Linked DNA regions of Homo sapiens: region 2 is linked to region 1. The links are contacts of gene promoters, found by promoter capture Hi-C in blood cells and fetal thymus (Javierre and others, 2016). All regions are on one chromosome and are shown on one strand. The core of a region is centred on a gene start or on the middle of the fragment in contact, and the rest is flanking DNA. Distances in the headings are between cores, read along the strand shown.

Evidence for each region. Contacts are between HindIII fragments. The CHiCAGO score rates a contact against its expected background, and 5 or more counts as called.
Region 2: a contact is called between a fragment that was not itself captured here and the fragment with the promoter of DPP4 in region 1, in 1 of 17 cell types (fetal thymus). The highest score is 5.3, in fetal thymus.

Annotation. Positions count from the first base shown.
Region 1 is chr2:162,071,033-162,076,171 of GRCh38, forward strand. DPP4 (dipeptidyl peptidase 4) reads right to left here and starts at 3,183. Exons shown (of 26, transcript NM_001935.4): 1 at 2,944-3,183; 2 at 2,367-2,454. The coding sequence starts at 2,949. It overlaps DPP4-DT (DPP4 divergent transcript), which reads left to right and starts at 3,825. Exons shown (of 3, transcript NR_147697.1): 1 at 3,825-3,903; 2 at 4,446-4,579. RefSeq lists enhancers at 2,702-2,901, 3,336-4,033, a silencer at 3,052-3,311 and a promoter at 3,588-5,139. The HindIII fragment of the contact is 4,875 bases long and covers 1,284-5,139 here.
Region 2 is chr2:161,319,227-161,324,365 of GRCh38, forward strand. All of the region lies in intron 3 of PSMD14 (proteasome 26S subunit, non-ATPase 14), which reads left to right. Among named protein-coding and RNA genes, the nearest start is that of PSMD14, 13 kb to the left of the region's middle. The HindIII fragment of the contact is 3,699 bases long and covers 1,164-4,862 here.

The DNA of each region.
Region 1 (5,139 bases), core at 1,933-4,432:
TACTGTAAGTGTCCTGGGCCATTTCCCTCACTTCCCCCTCCAGTGTTGCTCCATTGCAACTCACCTTCCCACTGTCATGGCCAACAGTTCAGGCATGCTCAAAACATCATTCACTGCATCATCTCCAGCTTAGAATCAAACTCTTTTGCCTGTTTCCCACCCTCCTCTGGGGCCCTGGATCCTTTTATAATCCCTAACACAGGATGTGATCTCATGTCTCTGTGTTGAAACACAGGGCATTTGCATTTTCTGGAATATCTTATCTCCAGAAACTGATGTTAACTATTCAAGCTTGGCCCACAAAAGAAACCTCTTATAAGAAGTCTCTCCGCCGGGTGCAGTGGCTTACACCTTTCATTCCAGCACTTTGGGAGGCCAAAGTGGGCAGATCATGAGGTCAGGAGATAAAGACCATCCTGGCCAACATGGTAAAACCCCATCTATACTAAAATACAAAAAATTATCCGGGCGTGGTGGTGTGTGCCTGTAGTCCCAGCTACTCGGGAGGCTGAGGCAAGGGAATCACTTGAACCCGGGAGGGGGAGACTTTCCCAGAAGTGTTCCTTCTAACCTCCAGAGCAGTCTGCTCAAGCACCTCTAAGTTATTTTTTTGAATCATAAGAGTAGTTATATGGAAACAAGTTGAGTCTCTCAGGAAGTCCTCCTCAAGAGAACATTCTTGAAATGTGTTCAAATTTCATTTGGAGAAGATACCAGGTGCTATTTAGCAGAAATGGCAAAACAGCTCTTCCTGGCCTGTATACCCTACCCAGCAAAACAAAATTCTCAGAGTTAACTGCAGCAAGCCTCAGATCCCTAGGCCTTTTCACTGGCCATCTCAAGTGGCTTATCAAAGTACAGTATTCCTTCCAACTTGCTTTAACGGAAGTTCTGATAATTACAGTTTTACTCAAACTTCCAGCGATGCTGTGATGCCTCAGTGATGTTTTGGAGAGAAACATACAGATTATTTCTATTTATATATGTGTGTATCCACACACACACATACACACATATATATGTAAAACAAGTCATATTTGTTTGCATGTTCCCACTAGCTTATACAGTCCTTGAGGTCAGGGCCTTTATATTTATATTTACAAAATTTAATCTTTGTATTTGCAGCAACTAACGCGGTGCCTGGAACATAATGTAAGCCTGTAAGCCCTATATTTATCAATTGTATGACTAGCACATTCTTCTCCCACAAGGCTTTGCATGTATGGTTTACACAAAGAGTTGCTTTATGAAAATAGTTATATTTTAACAGTCCACAAGAGTCAAGCTTAAGTGGACTGTCATTTAATGGTATAAAATAGTAGCAACCACTGGTTTCTTCAAATTTCATTAGCAGTAGGTCAACCCATTCAGTTATTTAACCTTTGGCACATTTGCCCTGGCCTTGAATTGCACAGCAAGCATGGTTTTCATAGCTCTACAATCTAATTCTGAACTGTCATCCTAAAATCTAGATAAGACTCCTTGAGTATGCAAGCACTGACTATACATTCCTCAGTTGACTAAATCTTCCAGAGAGAATGCTTTAACTGGCTGACTAATTTATAGTGTGTAATGCTGAAATGAAAGCAAGTGTTTAAAAGGAAAGTAAGGCCAGGGGAGACTGAAACTAGTAGTTCTCACTTGCTTGCATCCTACAGTGAGTATTCCATTATGTGAGTGTTTTATACATTTAGGCAAGCTAAAAAGACATGAAAGTCCTTAAATAAAAGAATCCACCAAAACATCACTGATTCCAGACCCTTCTTAAATATTATCGTGTATACCAGCTTTATTATTTAGCTCTGCAATACTGCTAAATTGGTCAATTACTTCCCTGCCTCCCCACCCTCCAACTGAATTCTCACCACCCTTGAGGGAAAACAGTCTGGGTTCCCTGTGGAACATCATTTCTCAAAACTGTATTTTGGGGCTTGCTTTCTCATTTTTCCTTTCCATTTCAGATATCCTTACTGCTGTCTTTGGGCTCTTTAAACACTGCCTTTTTTCCTTTTTCGATCACACCCAAAAACTTTTCTCAAAAATTACATGTAAATTTAAAAATTTACAAATTAAATTTAAAATTGAAATTTTAAAAATCCCGACTCTCCCTAATTTCAGGAAGCATGCATTTATTATACATAACAAGACGTGAAAGCCGCAAGAGTTTCAGCCTAAACACTGAAGACCCCGCGAAGTGAATCCAGCTGCTGCTCTACAAGCAGCAACAACAACTGGGAAGCCTTCTCAGCTACACTTCGGGGCACTGGTCCAACCCCACGCAAAATCCCTCGTTTCCCTTAGCGTGGTAAGACGGAGCCTGACCTGAGCTCCAACTGTCCTATCTTTTTCAAATGTTTCAAACTTACTGCCTTTGTTCAGCAGAACCACGGGCACGGTGATGATGGTGACAAGCGCAGCAGCACCCAGCAGTCCCAGAAGAACCTTCCACGGTGTCTGCAAGCCGAGCAGATCAAGTCCAATTAGAGGGAAGCGTGTGGCCCCAGTTTCCGTAGGAGGGTCGGGGCTGCTCCAGAGGCAGCAGGATTTGCAGGTGGGAGTGCGTTAGAAGAGGGAGACCGCGGGCTGGGGGTGGGGGTGGCGTCTGGAGTGCGCCAGTTGGAGTTCTCTAAGGCGGGTGCCCTTGAACTTGTGCCTTCAGAGCACATTAGCGTTGGTTTCTCTACCCCTGCCCGGGTTCGGGCGTGCGTTCTGTGAGTGGCTCTCCGGGACATTCAAAGCTCGACGCCAGGGTCCTAGCAGAAGCCAGGGTCCGAAAGCTAAGCGAGAGCTCTGGGACGTCCCTTCACCTGTCAGAGGGTGGCCTTGGGGCTTCCGCCTAAGGGGAGTCCCTGGTCCGGTTTCGCCAGCTTTTGGGCCATTTGGGGAGTTTGGCGAAGAGGTCCCCACAGCTCGCCCCGGGGACGTACGTGGCGCGGCACTCACCTTCATCGTCGGCGTCTCCTCGGAAGTGAGCGTTCAGAGAAGGAGCGCAGGCAGAAGTCACCGCGGGCGGCGGAGACGCGCGTCCTGCACCGCTGCTCCGGGCGGTGGAGTCACTCGCCGCTGGCAAGTTTCGGCCCCGAGTTAAACATTAGTGAGCGCCGAGCCCGCTGGGTATAAAGGCGCCGCGGGCAGGCTGCAGGGCAGGCGGCGCGGGAGCAGGCGCGCGTGGCGCGGGGCACTGGCATCCCGGCCGGGGGGAGCCCGCGAGGGCCCCCTGAGGGCGGTGTAGGGCGCTGGGCGGCAGCCGGGGCGCAGAGTGCGGGGCCCGGAGGAGCCGTGGGGGAGGGGAAAGGGCGCGCGGCCTCGGATGCGCAGACCCTGGGCCGGCGACTCGGGGACCCTGCTCCCTCTTAGCTAAAAATGACGTCGGCGTTCAGCTCCTCCAACCTCACGTGGACAGGCGAGGGAACCGAGACCCAGAGAGGGCAGGGGACTTTGGCAAACTCACACAGCCCACCGCAGGCAACTGGAACTGAAACCCAGGACTCCGTCTCTTGCCAGTGAAAGTTATGTTAGGAAGCAGTGAGGGGTCTAAAGCAGTATGAAAGGCAAAGAGAAAAGGTGATTGTTCCCTCTTGAATGGCCCTTGGAAGCTGAGTATCTGGATTCACCCTCCCTAGGGAATTTCCCGATTGTCTTGCAGGCTTACACACTCATCAAGATGACAAAAATAATGACAGTAACACTTATGTGGAACTTGACTTTTTCCCAGGTGCTGCTCTAAGCATTTACTGTGTTTGTTTTACAGGAAGGAAGACTGTACACAGAGAATAAATAACTTGGCCAAGCCATTCAGCTAGGAAGTTGTAGATCCTAAATTAAGAGTTCAAGGTCTTAATGGCTACTCTATGCGGCCTCTCATAGTCTTTTCAAGGGTTTTGGAGAAGAATAAAAGATCAGGTATGGCTTCTCCCTCCCCCAGCTCTCTATTGTTCCCTAAAGGATTATTCATTCGTTCATTCATTCCTACATCCTCCCATTTATTCCAGTCATCCACAGATGTTTGAGTGGTTACAATGTGCCAGCCTCCCTTCTAGGTACTGGAGATAAAGTGGGACAAGAGAGGTGAGGTCTGGACCCTTGGCACTTTCACGATAAAATACACAGGTAAACATTTGCCTTTAGGGCCCCCTGTGATTACTTCCACTCTTGCAGATAAGAGGATAAGGCCTCTTCAGCTTGTTCACAGCAGCTGAAAAGCAAAGCCTCTCTGTCAGTAGAGGTAAAAGATTAAGAATGCAGAGTCCGATGGGGCATTACCACATGATTATGAATTAATGCAATTTTCCATCTTTTATTTCCAATCCAGGCATTGCTTTTGAACTCAGTCATCTTTTCCCCCTTGCCCACTAGTTGCTTGTGATACATCAGTATCCTCACTCACCCCCAACTCCAGAGGCTGAAACTAACTCTCCTCCTCCCTCTTCCAACTGCTGAGGAAGATGAGTCAATGGTGTTACTGGACCCTGTGAACTGATGCTGTGAAGAGAGGCCATTTAACACGGACTACGGGGAATGGTGCCACAGGGGGCTCAGTGCTGCCCTTCACTCTCAGCATTTTGCTCACTCAGCATTGGTAAGCCACATCAGCCTCGGTGAAGGAAGTCTGGAGAGTTAAGCCTGTGCTTCATCTCCATGCCAGCACCATGGCACTCATTGTACATTCAGCAAGCCCCAAGGAAGCTGGCAGGAGGCTGGCTGACATCTACGGGACAGGTCAATTTGTTCTCTGGAGGGCACTCCATGAGACGCAAATATCTTCACACCCTGTGCCCATTTCAAGAGACTCTCTCACATGCCTCCCCCACCTTGACCTCTGTGTCACCAGTCTTTCAATCTTGTTTTTTCCAAATCCTTAAGGTAGCAGCTGGCCAACACATTAGCCACCACTGATGAGTCAGTGTAGATCTTACATTGGGCCATCTCTTTTTTCTTGCAAAATAGAAAAGCAGATGTTCTGCTCAAAGTTCTGTTTGTCAGTAAGATTTCCCTTTCTGCTGTGTTTCAGGACATCCCTGGGAGGGACTCTGATGCAGCAGCCATCTACTTATTGCTAGTGCCAGCTTACTTTGCATAACATTGACTCCTTTCCCTCATCTGTTGCCTAGTTGTAGGAAACTCCTTGTGAAGCTATAG
Region 2 (5,139 bases), core at 1,763-4,262, 750 kb before region 1:
TGTCATCCTGCTTGCCAGATCCAGAAAACTGACCCATAGAATGTTTATATGTACAGTCTTAACACTGGTAAATTTCTGCTAGTAATTATGATATATAGATGGATTAATAAGTAATCTCTCTCCTTTAAATTTGGTATAAATGGTTTCTTTTATAATCTTTTTAAAAAATAAATAAGCTTTCAGTTGTTTTAATATTGTTTATCTTGTTCCATTTGCTGTTGGGCAAATGACCTCTAGATTTCTGCCTCAGGATAGTCTATCTGCTTTCAGATCAAGAATTTGTGCCTCTTGTGAGTTCGACACTTTCGATCTGTGCAGTCATACATTGAGTTAATACTAATTAACAAAAGAAATGACTATGTGTATTTCTCTTCCTAAGACTTTTATATATGCAATGTATTGTTTTATGACCAAATATTAGAAATATTTTTATAGTCCCTTTTAAAATCTCTTTAGTTTCCAGCTTTCCCACATTTCCTTACTGCTATCAGTGACTTCATCTTTCTTCAAAGTAATCTGTGTTTACTATAAGAAGCAGTTTTTGTTTCAGACTTCATGAAATTTTCAGTGTTTTAGAAGAACTTTCATAAGAACTGTTTGATTAGGTCTATCATGGTTTATGACTTTTATAAAGTTGAAATCTTTTTGTGATTCTGTATTGCATTCTTGGATGGATTTCAGTTGTTTTTCGTTTACTTTTGTTAGTTTTGATGATTTCTCATGTTTCTTTGTTGTCAGCCTATTTCTTCATGATTCTTCATTTTTATAACACCTGTATAACTCATTCTCTCAAGAGGCCTAAGCCTCTTTGAACTTGATCCTGAACCTGTTTCCATTCTTTTGTAAACATTCTAGAGAGCTTCTAGAATTTCTCTAATTTATTCTGAAATTAGTAGTAATAGTGTTCAGGCATGTGAAAATGTGAGAAGTGAGCAGAGGTGGTATGTAGATAGTGCAGATTTACCTGCAAATTATAGGTGAAGATGTTGCCTTAGAATTCTTAAGGAAAGTTGTATCAAATTTAAATATAAAAATAACTTTCCTTAAGCATAGATACAATAAATTACCCATCTTGGAAATCCATGCTGGAAAACCCCTGGACATGAAATAATGGTTTTACTGACCACAAATTGAGCTACATTATATGTCAATGGCGACTTCAAAGCTTTATATCAAGTGAAAAACTTAATGTTTTTTCAGTAACCTTATTGGTTTCTGATTAATCAGCCATTGTGTCCTTAGTTTGTACTCTTTTTTGAAGTTAAAAATCTGCTTAAGAATCATTTCATCTCAATTAGATGATAAACTCTAATTTGTGGAACTCTTATTTTTATGGTATCTCCCTTATCCTATACTAGGTGTAATTTTCTTTTTCTCTAAAATTTTATTTTATCTTGTTATAGGAATAATTTGACAAATACTTATGATGTTACTTTTGTAACATGAAACGTTAAGTGTATTTTTTTGCCTAATAAGAATGTTGTTTATTATTTATTTATTTATTATAATTTTTTTTTGAGATGGAGTCTCACTCTGTCGCCCAGGCTGGAATGCAATGGCATGATCTCGGTTCACTGTACCCTCTGCCTCCTGGGTTCAAGTGATTCTTCTGCCTCAGCCTCCCAAGTAGCTGGGATTACAGGCGTTCACCACCACGCCCAGCCGATTTTTGAATTTATAGTAGAGACTATGTTTCACCATGTTGGCCATGCTGGTCTTGAACTCCTGACCTCAAGTGATCCACCTGCCTCGGCCTCCCAAAGTGCTGGGATTACAGGCGTGAGCCACTGTGCCCAGACTATTATTTATTTTTAATAAGAAGTCAAAGATCTTTGGATTGATAATAGCTATCTTTTCATTAGATAAGGCATAGGCACCAATAGTAGTAAAAAAGGAGACACAAATTGGCCCTTCTCTCCAAAAATCAGTGGGAAATGTTATCTTACCATTTAATGGAAAAGGCAGAATTCCCTCCCAAATAGGAGCAGGTCACTTGCTGGTAAGTTTGTAGATGGCCCTCTTAAAATGTGGCAGTAGACAGGAGCAGAACAGGTAAAGGCCTCATATGATTGAGAGTTCCTTAAGGTTATTTTATTTCCTTGATTGAAGAACAAGAACCATGGACATTTTATGAGTGAATAGGCCACCTTAAATCATGATCTATACGAATAACCCAATTTTGATGAACGAAATGTCCAAGACATATTTTTTTTTATATCAGTGTCCAAACAGTTGCTACTTTACTGGCTTGAAGACATTTTGTTTCACTCCCAATTGACACAAACCTGGCGGTTACTGTCAGACTCTGCAAGTTAAAGGCTCACTTCTCCACAGAACTACCCTTACTTCAGATGCCAGCTATACTTCATGTGTCCCCAAGCCATCCACACTTTGGACTGACACTTTAACCTGAGTATAAATTTGGAGGTCCTCACAACCTCCTCAGGTTTGATAATTCACTAGAACAACTGACAAAACTCAAGAAAGTGCTGTGCTTATTATTACAATTTTGTTATCCAGAAATACAGATTAGGAGGACCAGTGAAATGAAGACACACAGGATGGGGTCTGGGAGGAGATGCAGAGCTCCTGTGCCCTCTCTTCATGGAATTAGGGCATGTCACCCTCCCTGCACATCAGTGAGTTTACCAGCCAGGGAACTCCACCTGGTGTAGCTTTGGTTTCCGAGTTTTTATTGGGACTCGGCATACATGAGCTTGATTGATTAAATCATTGGGTGATCAAACTCAAAATTCAAATCTCCATCCTCCCTTCCCAAATGGGCCTGGCTCAAAGTCTTAGCCCTCTAATTACCGTGTTGGTCTTTATGTTGATCAGCCCTCATCTGCAAGCTATCTAGGGGTGTGCACTAAGTCACAGTGTTAGCATAACAAAAGAAACTCCAAGGGTTTTTGAGGCTCTGTGCCAGAAACTCAGGATAAAGACCAGATTATTACGCAACAAAGACTTGTTTTCAGCCTTGACTTCATTATTTGTAGAAACAATTCAGTATTTCATTTGAATTTTTCTTGTACTATGATACTGATTTTTATGTTGTTTCCAAGAGACATGACCCCACCTTGAGTCCCAGTGCCTTTAATATAACCCAGTAGTAGTAAAAAGGTCTTTGGGCTTTGCTCTATATGCTAATTGGTCATGTTATTGTTATTATTATTATTTTGAGTCAGAGACTTGCTTTGTTGCCCAGTCTGGAGTACAGTGGTATGATCTCAGCTCACTGCAGTCTCGCCCTCCTGGATTCAAGTGATTCTCCTGCCTCAGCCTCGCAAGTAGCTGGGATTACAGGCATGAGCCTCCACGCCCAGCTAATTTTTTTATTTTTAGTAGAGGTGGGGTTTCACCAAGTTGGCCGGGCTGGTCTTGAACTCCTGACCTCAAGTGATCTGCCCACTGCAGCCTCCCAAAGTGCTTGGATTACAGATGTGAACCATTGCGCCCGGCCTGGTCATGTTTTTTTAATGGAGGAATTCACAGTAATAATATAGGAATATCAGTATTATAATCACAGTTGATACTGATATTTCATTGTTTTTGAGGCCACTTGGTCTTAGTTGTTTTATTTGGGAGTTGTAGTAGGGCTAGTAGGTAAAAAAGGAACTTGTAAATAATCAAAGTCCCCATTCATTCTAGTTTCTTAATTTTCTCTAAATAGGAGGTGACTTTTCTCTTTTCCAAGGCTATTCCTTCCTTGTTCTTGGATCTCGTTCTCTTGACACACTGCAGATCTCCATTGACCCCTTTCTCTGCCTACAAAGATGTTTAAGTCTCCTGTATCCAAAAACCAAAACTCTACTGCATACTGCCATTAAACCTTTTCTTCTATTTATTTCTAGAATTCCTGAAATAATAGCTTAAACTCCATAATCTACTTAATTACCTCTGTTCACTCACATGAGAATGCATTCTGGCCAACTCCTGTATTACTGTACTGGAATTTTTTAAACTGCCAAGTCTATTGGCCTATTTTTAGTTCTCTTTTAACTAAACTTCAATATTCCACACTTACTATCTTAAACCTTTCTTTTCCATTAGTTTTTATCATGCTGTCTTTTCCTGTTTCTCATTACGGTGTCCATTCCTACAAAACAACTAAGTTTTATTTTTTTTAATATCACATTTTAAAATGTTAATATTGGCCAGGCCTGGTGGCTCATGCCTGCAATCTCAGCCCTTTGGGAGACCGAGGGGGCAGATGACATAAGGCTAGGAGTTCAGGACCAGCCTGGCCAACATGGGGAAACCCCATCTCTACTAAAAGTACAAAAATCACCTGGGTGTCGTGGTGCACATCTGTAATCCCAGCTACTCAGGAGGCTGAAGCAGGAGAATCACTTGAACCCAGGAGGTGGAGGTTGCAGTGAGCCAAGGTAGTACCACTGCACTCCAGCCTGGGTGACAGAGTGAGACTATGTCTCAAAAAAAAAAAAAGTTAATATTTGAATAGTGATAGGCTACAATAATTAAATTTGTCCTCAGTCCTCCACTTCAGTTTAACTTACCAGTAGTTTGAAGCAGAAATAAAGATGTTTTATTAGTACTATTAAAATTTATAAGGTAACAGCTTTAAATTTTAAATGTATTTTTAGATTTTCTTTGTTAAAATGCTTACAAACTTGAAATTACTAAAAGGTATGAGATTATTGTATTAAAAACATATGTTGCCATAATTTGGCTACTTCGTTGTCTTTATAACAACTCCACCTAGGTCTTGGCATCTAAACGATTTCCAAAAGCAGTGGAAACAGAGCCCAAGAGATGAGAATAGCCAAAGCATATTCTGTACTTTTTAAAAATTTTGATTTCTCCCTGGGTTCATTTTAGCTTTGGAAATAGTCAATATAAGCTTGAAAGTAGATGGAACTTAAGCAAAATGTCAGTGGCATTTAGTAACTTGTCTTCAGTTTTAATTTGTTAAGTCAATATTTTGAGTTTCTGTGTATCAGGTATTATATACTATAACGAATTCCAAGACGAACAAGAATATCAATGCCTAATCCAGAGCCTTACATTATAATAGACACACAAGCAATCATGTTTTAAGTGCCTAGTACACATTAACTACTTTGAATCAGTGAAAGCTAATGCTCATTGTAAATAACGTGATTTGTAAGTACAGTG